Linked DNA regions of Homo sapiens: regions 1 and 3 are each linked to region 2. Evidence: promoter capture Hi-C in 16 types of primary human blood cells and fetal thymus (Javierre and others, 2016). All regions are on one chromosome and are shown on one strand. The core of a region is centred on a gene start or on the middle of the fragment in contact, and the rest is flanking DNA. Distances in the headings are between cores, read along the strand shown.

The links. The method cuts DNA at HindIII sites, captures the fragments that hold promoters and counts their contacts. A CHiCAGO score of 5 or more calls a contact.
Region 1: a contact is called between a fragment that was not itself captured here and the fragment with the promoter of SLC43A1 in region 2, in 1 of 17 cell types (neutrophils). The highest score is 5.5, in neutrophils.
Region 3: a fragment that was not itself captured here is called in contact with the fragment with the promoter of SLC43A1 in region 2 in 1 of 17 cell types (neutrophils); the score reaches 7.2 in neutrophils.

Annotation. Positions count from the first base shown.
Region 1 is chr11:57,778,903-57,781,602 of GRCh38, forward strand. The region is part of intron 1 of CTNND1 (catenin delta 1); the gene reads left to right. The region is part of intron 2 of TMX2-CTNND1 (TMX2-CTNND1 readthrough (NMD candidate)); the gene reads left to right. Among named protein-coding and RNA genes, the nearest start is that of CTNND1, 18 kb to the left of the region's middle. RefSeq lists enhancers at 1-701, 702-1,587. The HindIII fragment of the contact is 2,296 bases long and covers 110-2,405 here.
Region 2 is chr11:57,514,252-57,516,951 of GRCh38, forward strand. It overlaps SLC43A1 (solute carrier family 43 member 1), which reads right to left and starts at 1,451. Exons shown (of 15, transcript NM_003627.6): 1 at 1,193-1,451. RefSeq lists an enhancer at 1,605-1,674. The HindIII fragment of the contact is 5,778 bases long and covers 1-2,700 here.
Region 3 is chr11:57,821,740-57,824,439 of GRCh38, forward strand. No RefSeq gene overlaps it. Among named protein-coding and RNA genes, the nearest start is that of CTNND1, 61 kb to the left of the region's middle. The HindIII fragment of the contact is 771 bases long and covers 1,008-1,778 here.

The DNA.
Region 1 (2,700 bases), core at 8-2,507, 260 kb after region 2:
TCGGAGCATCTAGCTACTCCGAGGGATTAGAGAGTGTGAATTCTGACTGTGGCCTTTTGCGTTTTAGCACTTAAGTTATATAAATGGTCCTGATCTCTTAGCACTGGGAAGCTTACTGAGTTTTGTGTGTGCTGCTATTCTTTGTGGATCTCTAGGATTTAATTAAGAAAGGAATTCTAGAAGGAAATAAATGTTAAGTAATGTTCATTTGCTGTATATGTTGCAGGTACCTTGTTGGGTTTAAAAGGGACAGAAGGAAACAGGTAATGCTGAGGTCCTTTACATTTTATATCTCATCCTTCCAATTGGCACCCTACTGCATACAGATCAGGAGAAACCTACCCGCTTAGTATTAAGAGTTACTAGCAATTCTCTAATGTTTGATCATAACTAGAGAATGGTTGGTAGTTTCCTGGGATTTTTCTTCCCTATGTCTAGACTGAAATAGCACCTGTAATACCCTCTCTCTTTTCTGCCCTCTTTTCTCTCTTGTTTTGTGTTTTCCCTGCCTTCCATTCCAGCTGTGAAACAGGCATCTTTTCTCACTTTGTGGATTGGATGGCTGAGTCCTTAACTTTGAGCCAAGCTGGCTGGTTCCTGAGCACACACACAAACCCGCCTTTGATTGTCCAGGAGGACAGCTGCCCTAGAGGCAGATTGCTAACATACCACTAGAACAATCCTTCTTCTCTGTTCTTATGCTGGCTAGCACAATCTTTACTGCCTCTAGTTCCTTCTGTTTCCCACCCCATCTCTGATCTTTGCTTTTGGCTTAGTGAGATGTCACATTAAAAATGAGAGTAGGGATTGGATTTTTTTTCTTGTGGTAGGGTTGAGGGGGTGATCAGAGAATGTGACATGTAGCCAGCTTTCTAGAGCAGGCTTGCCAGTGGTAAGGTAGGTAATTTTTACAGAGTAGTGCCTCTTTTGTTCTTAGCACCTTTCCTCCTGAGTACTAGGTTCTTATAAAAGGGAAGGTAAATCTGAAGTAGGCTGCAAGCTACTCTTCCCAAATTGAGTAAGGTTTTGTTCTTTAAAGTGAAGATAAGACCCAAAAGTCTAGCTGGCTCCATTCCACCTTCTCTTGCCTCCTTCCCCTCTCCGTAAAAAAAATGTCAACTTTGGGTTAACTTCTTAATTGGAACTAGAATGACTTTTTTTTTTTTTTTGAGACAGGGTCTTACTCTGTCACTGAGGCTGGAGTACAGTGGCACAATCTTGGCTGACTGCAGCCTGGAACCACCAGGCTCAAGTGATCCTCCCACCTCAGCCTCCCGAGTAGCTGGAACTACAGGCACATGCCACCACCCCCAGCTAATTTTTTGTATTTTTTGTAGAGATGGTGTCTTGCCATTTTGCCCAGGCTGGTCTCAAACTCCTGAGCTCAAGCAGTCTGCCTGCCTCAGCCTCCCAAAGTGCTGGGATTACAGGCTTGAACCACCTCTCCTGGCCCGAAGAATGACTTTTAACCCCAGGAAACATAGAAAATTCATACTCTTTCCACTTTATCAAGAAGGAGCATGGACTTGGAATAAAATAGGAGTTTTCACTACTTACTACTAGTTGATGAGCTTGGGCAAGATACTAAATACTTCTGGTATATAGGTAGTATACTTATTTATAAAAAGAGGCCATTACCTCAGCAGGTGTTGAAAGGATTATATGATAACTTCAAGGGGAAGAGCAATAATGCACAACTTTCTTCCCCTTCAAGATGGGATTTTCTTCTTTCAGATAAGGAGAAACATTTCCTCCTGCTATCTGTCCTAAAGCCAAGAAAGGACCTTAACACTTCTGATTGATTTATTTATAGATTGACATGCTCTGTCTCCCTGTTGCTTATCTCAAAAGGAAGACATACTCCAAACTTGATGAAAAGAATGCCTTATTGGTCTTTTCAGGGTTTTGAGGAATTGGGACTGTGTAAATCTGGCTCAATTACATGCTTCCACCTTTTCCAAGTTATTTTCAAATGATGGGCAAAGAGGTGGGGGAATGCCATAGATTGAAAGTTTGGTGAGAAGCTGCTATTTTCTTTCTTTCTTTCTTTTTCAAGATGGAGTTTCACTCTTATTGCCCAGGCTGGAGTGCAATGGCGCAATCTCTGCTCACTGCAACCTCCACCTCCTGGGTTCAAGCGATTCTCCTGCCTCAGCCTCCCGGGTAGCTAGGATTACAGGCATCTGCCACCACGCCAGGCTAATTTTTGTATTTTCAGCAGAGACAGCGTTTCACCATGTTGACCAGGCTAGTCTCAAACTCCTGACCTGGTGATCCACCCGCCTCAGCCTCCCAAAGTGCTGGGATTACAGGCGTGAGCAACCGCACCTGGCCGAGAAGCTGCTATTTTAAAAAAGGAATGTGAGCTCAAACAGTTGGGTGACCCCTAGTAAACTCTAAGGTTAAGCTTTTCCATGAATATTTTTTTTTTCCGAGTCTAGGGTATGGAAGGATATAAGGTGTCTTAGTTAATTTTAGGATTTCTCTTTTATGACATGAGACCTAATCAATACCTTTGCATTTCAATGAGGCTTTTTCTTATTTTTCATAGTGTACCTGATCTCTCTCCTCTTGTAGGAAGGAGAAAGGCATTTGGCCTCTCCCCTTCCTTTAGTCTAACACCTTCCTCTGTTTTTTTGCCCCTCCCTCTTATCTTTGTTTCCTTATCGGCCTCTCCCTAAAGCCCTGCTTTCTCCTTTT
Region 2 (2,700 bases), core at 201-2,700:
CCTGGGCTTCCCAGCCGGTGCCAAGGAGCTGGCTCCGCGCGCACTAGCAGTGCCAGAGGTGCACGCGGCACGGGGCTCCCGCTGAGCCACTATCGGAAACAAGGAAGGTCCTGTCTGCGCGCTGCAGCTTCCTAGCAGGCTGCCGGGTTCTCTCACCCAGGCCAGGGCGCTCAGGGCCGGGCTGCTGGGGAGAAAGTCCGCATCTGCCCAGGTCCCCAGAGGACAGCAAGGGGCAGAGCGCGCTCTGAAGCACCGCGGGCCCATGTCCGGACTCTCGCGCCAGGAAAGACCCCTAGAAGCTGGCAGGAAGAAGGGCAAGTTCAAGGCTACCCTACGACCCCATCTTCCAGTTGCCCCTCCAAGACCTCTCCTTCCCTCTGGGGCCGGGCGACAGCAAGCCCTCCCCCTTTCCGTATCAGGTGACCCACGACCCTACAGTCTCTCGGGCCAAGCCAACAGCTGCCACGTGGAGGGAGACCCAGGACGGGCTCTCCTCGGTTCCCTCCTCCCCCGCGCGCCCCTCACTCACTCCGCAGGGCTCGGGGCACCAGGCTTTGCACCTCGGAACCCGCTTGCCCCCCTCCAGCCCCGGGAGGGGGCTCGGACTTCGGCAGGAAGTCTGGCGGCTGCTGACTTTATAAGGGCAGCGGTGGCGGATGGGCTGGCGGGCGGGTGTGTTTACCAAAGGGAGGGAAAGAGCCCCAGCTCCCCCCGCCGCGGCCGCTGCAGCCTCGGCGGGAGGAGAGGGAACGCGGGCGGCGCGGGGGCGGGGAGCGACAACTGGGATGAGACCGAGGAAAGCGGAGAGGAGAAGGGCAAGAAAGACCCAGAGAGAGGGGAGGAAGTACCAGTCACTTCTTCCAGGGGGACTCGGTATTCTCATCTGTGAAACGGGGCTTTGGGTTCAAGCGCTCCAGGAGGTCCGCTGGAACTCTGGCAAACGCGCAGCTCTAAGCAGAGGAAGTGCAGCGAGCGGGGACCCGGGAGGAAGAGAAGAGTCGGAGGGGTCAGAGAAAAGAAAAGGGAAGGACGCGCTTGGCGAGATGGGACACTGTGCCGCGGGACCGCGGGCGCAAGTAACGGTCTTTCCTTGGGAAGCCTGGCAGTGTCGGCGGGAGCCGGCCTCGGTGTCTCTCAGCCGACGCATAGCCGGAGACCCTACGCGCGCCCCCTCCCCGCCCACGCTGCTCACCTCCGGTCACCGGCAAATGAGCAGCCAGCAGCTGCGGACGCCTCCGGGAGCGCAACGCTTTCGCGGCGCGTCCGGAGTCCCGTGGGCCCAGCCCTGAGCCGCGCCGGCGCTGGGGTCTTCTCTGCGTGCAGGACCCGGCGGCCACGGAGCTTCAGCCTGACAGCCCGGTGGCCTCGCCTCCGCTGTCTCCTCGGAAGAAGCGGGGGAACTGGGAACCCGCCGGGCGCCAGAGGTCTGCGAAGCTGGGCTTGGATGAAGTGGATCTGCGGAGTTGATAGTTGTATTTACACGCGTCCGGAGCTGCGCCCCGAGGTGGGGGCGGGGGCTCCCTTCTTTTCCCCTCCCCTTAGGTCGAGTTTCACGCGCACGTGACTCGCCCGCTGGTCCCGGACACTCTCCCTCTGGCACAGCCCCAGCACCTACATTTCCACCCTGGACCCCCATCTTCTCCCCCAAGCCCCCAGACTAACATCAGGCAGCGCCCTCTGTATCCTTGTTCAAAACAAAGTGCGATTCGGCTGAAGCCGACTGACCGCGATTCAGGGCCGCCTTGGGTGGGGTTTTGAACTGTGCAGCTGGAAGCAGTGTTTTCCGAGAGGCAGAGTGGCACGGGTTTCTTTGGAGTTAGTCAGATCGAGGTCTGAGTCTTGACTTTTTAACTGACTACCCTGGGTTACCTAGGGCAAGTTACCTCTCTGAGCCTCAGCTTCCTCCTCTTTAAATTCGGTTAAAATGGAACCTACCTAACTGCCCAAAGGAATCGCGATTGTGATGCAGGTAAAATGCTAAGCATAGCATTTGGCATAGTAAGCATAATGTTAATTGTTGCTGCTGTCATTATTTCAGAAGACCTGGTGATCGGATGCTTCCAGATCAACAATTGATTGACTCCAGGTAAATCTCTCAGCCTCCCTGAGCCTCAGTATCCTCATCTGTAAAATAGACTACTATGGTGTGGAGTAATGAGAAGTAATCTCATTACATGTGAGTTTAATTGTGTGTTAAGAGTGCTGCTAATGCATGCTGAGCTTAATACCTAGGTGATGGGTTGATAGGTGCAATAAACCACCACGGCATACATTTACCTACGTAACAAACCTGCACATTCTGCACATGTACCCCAGAACTTAAAATAAAAATAAAATTTTTTTAAAAAAAGAGTGATACTGGTGGCCAGGTGTGGTGGTTCATGCCTGTAATCCCAGAACTTTGGGAGGCCAAGGCAGGAGGATCGCTTGAGCTCAGGAGTTCGAGACCAACCTGGACAACATGGTGAAACCCCGTCTCTACAAAAAAGAAAAAAAAATAGCCAGGCATGGTGGTGTGCACCTGCAGTCTCAGCTACCCAGCAGGCTGAAGTGGGAGGATCACTGAGCTGGAGAGATGGAGGCTGCAGTGAGCCAAGATCATGCCACTACACTCCAGCCTGGGTGACAGAGTAAGACTCTGTCTCAAAAACAAAACAAGAATGACTACAGAAAGCTCCAAGAAGGCCTCAGATAAAAGGG
Region 3 (2,700 bases), core at 143-2,642, 310 kb after region 2:
AGTGCCATAAGACATTTATGCCTGAGGAAAAAGAAATATGGGATATTTGTGGTGATGTTCCAGTCAATTACCCAATTTTTGTCTTCACCTCAATTCTTTTTTTTTTTTTTTTTGAGGTGAAGTTTCGCTCTTGTTGCCCAGGCTGGAGTGCAATGGCATAATCTTGGCTCACTGCAACCTCCGCCTCTTAGGTTCAAGCAATTCTCCTGCCTCAGCCTCTGGAGTAGCTGGGATTACAGGCATGCGCCACCACGCCTGGCTAATTTTGTATTTGTAGTAGAGACGGGGTTTCTTCAGGTTGGTCAGGTTGGTCTTGAACTCCCAACCTCAGGTGATCTGCCTGCCTCGGCCTCCCAAAGTGTAGTGATTACAGGCGTGAGCCACCATGCCTGGCTCACCTCAATTCTTCTTTTCCTTCCACCTTAAAGGCAGGCTTAGCTTTGGTCTTACAGTTCACGCGTTGGCAGAATCGGGGCAGGGGGAGTGCGTTGGTGTGCGTATTTGAAACTAATTCAGGGCTCTGTTTTTGGCAGTATGCTGGATTAGATAATTCTGAAAAGTCCTTTCAGCAGAAGCAACCAAGATACTGGGTAAATATATTTATAAAAAATACTTTTAAACATATTGCTGAGCAGGCACGAAAGTAAGGAACCTACGGCTCTTCAAAATGAAGCAAAAGCTGGAATCCTAGGAAGTAACTGCCAAAGCCAGCTTTTCCTCAGAATTTTTGCCAAATTCAGCAGACCATAACCTTCTATTTTAGTGATTACACAAAGTATGGGCAACAGGAAATGAGAAATCTAGTAGGTTCCCTCATAAAGCTGGACACCCTCAGTGTAAAGGTGAACAAGAAATAAACACTCCATAGAAGGGCGCAGCAAGGAACTCATTTGTCTCAACCTTAGTGGCACATGGAAACTATAGAATATTTTCCCTGATGATTTATAACCACAAATGGCCTTCTATGGGCTTTCAGTCCAAACTTAGGCTACCTGTGTGGTCCAAAAAGCTTAACTGGGGAATTTAAAGTGGTACTCATTTGTTTATGCTTCCAGGTGATTTTCAGAAGCAAATGCAATTCCTCTAAGGCCTCAGAACAATTCCCATAGATATACTTTCAAGGCAAATGAGTGCTCTTGCCCAAAAATTATAAACTGAACAAAGAAATAAGGCACAATGAGTGAAAAGACAGACACAGAAGCTGATCTTTTAAATACTTCAGATGTTGGCATTGTTGCACAGACTATAATGAAATAACGATTAATGAACTTTTTGAATTAGTGGAAAAACCTTTTTGAATTAGAAGTGAAAAATACAAATTTGAGGTAAGAAGTCAATGCATGGATTAAATAGATTAGACAAATTGAAGGAGGATTTGTGAATTGGAAGATAAGAAATTATACAGAATGCACTCCAGATAGAGAATGGAAAATAGGCAAGAGGTTGAGACAACAATGGAATAAGATCTAATAAACATTATTTGGAACATCAGGAGATAGGAGGAGGCAATATTCAAAGAGAAATTTTTTAGGGTTGGATGAAAGGCACCAAACCTCAGACTTAGGGAGCCCAGTGAATCTCAAGCAAGATAAACCAACTTACCTAGTACATCAGGGTGAGATGCAGAAAACCAAAGAAAAGATTGTGGGCATCTGGAGAGAAAATACAGACTACCTGTAGAAAACCAGCCAGATGGTGACTTCTGTGTCAACAATGAAAGCCAGGAAACAGTGAAATTTATCTTCATCATGTTAAGAGAAAAAGGAACTTATTATGAAAGCTTACCTGAGGTGACACTTTTTAAAAAGCTACTAAAAACATTTTCCGACAAAAGCAGAGTTTCCACTTACAAAAGGATGTCCTTGAGGTGGAAGGAAAATGATCTCAGATGGAGAATCAGATGCAAGAAGGAACACTGAACGAAATTGCTAAAGCCTTCACTGTAAGAGGAGTGTGTAATTTATGGGAGAGAAATACAGACTAGAATTAAAATGCTGGACAACAATAGCATGTAAAGTTGAGGGAGCAATTACAACACTAATTTTCGGGTTCTTCAGGAGGAAAGTAAAGATACTGATAAGACTTGAAAAACTAAATAGATTGGTACAGAAGTAATTGCATTGAAATGGCAAAAACTGCAATGACTTTTGCACCAACCTAATACATATTAGCTGGAATAACCACTAAAGAATGAATATAGGACATATAACTTCCAAACAAGTAGAGAGGGAAGAAAGCAAAAGGAGTATGGGCAAGGTTAGTACTGGTGCTGCATCTGATGGAACAAGCTGAGCCTGCAGGGCAGTGGTGGTAGGTAGTGGTGAAGCCCCCACCTTTATATCACAGCACTGGGTATAGCGTGTGGCAAGTTAAGTAGATGTGTGCAGCAAAGAGCAGAGTGAAGAACAAGAATAGGGACAAAGGGAATAGCTCCAAGACAATTTCTATAAAAGCAAAGTTAAAAATTGGCTGGTAAGTGAGTTGGTCAGCCTGGCTTAAAGACACAGTCAGTACAAATGCTTTCATATTTTGCTGATGAAATTGCAAAGTCTTCTGTAATCCCAGCACTTTGGCAGGCCGAGGTGGGCGGATCACGAGGTCAGGAGATCGAGACCATCCTGGCTAATGCAGTGAAACCCCATCTCTACTAAAAATACAAAAAATTAGCTGGGCGTGGTGGTGGGCGCCTGTAGTCCCAGC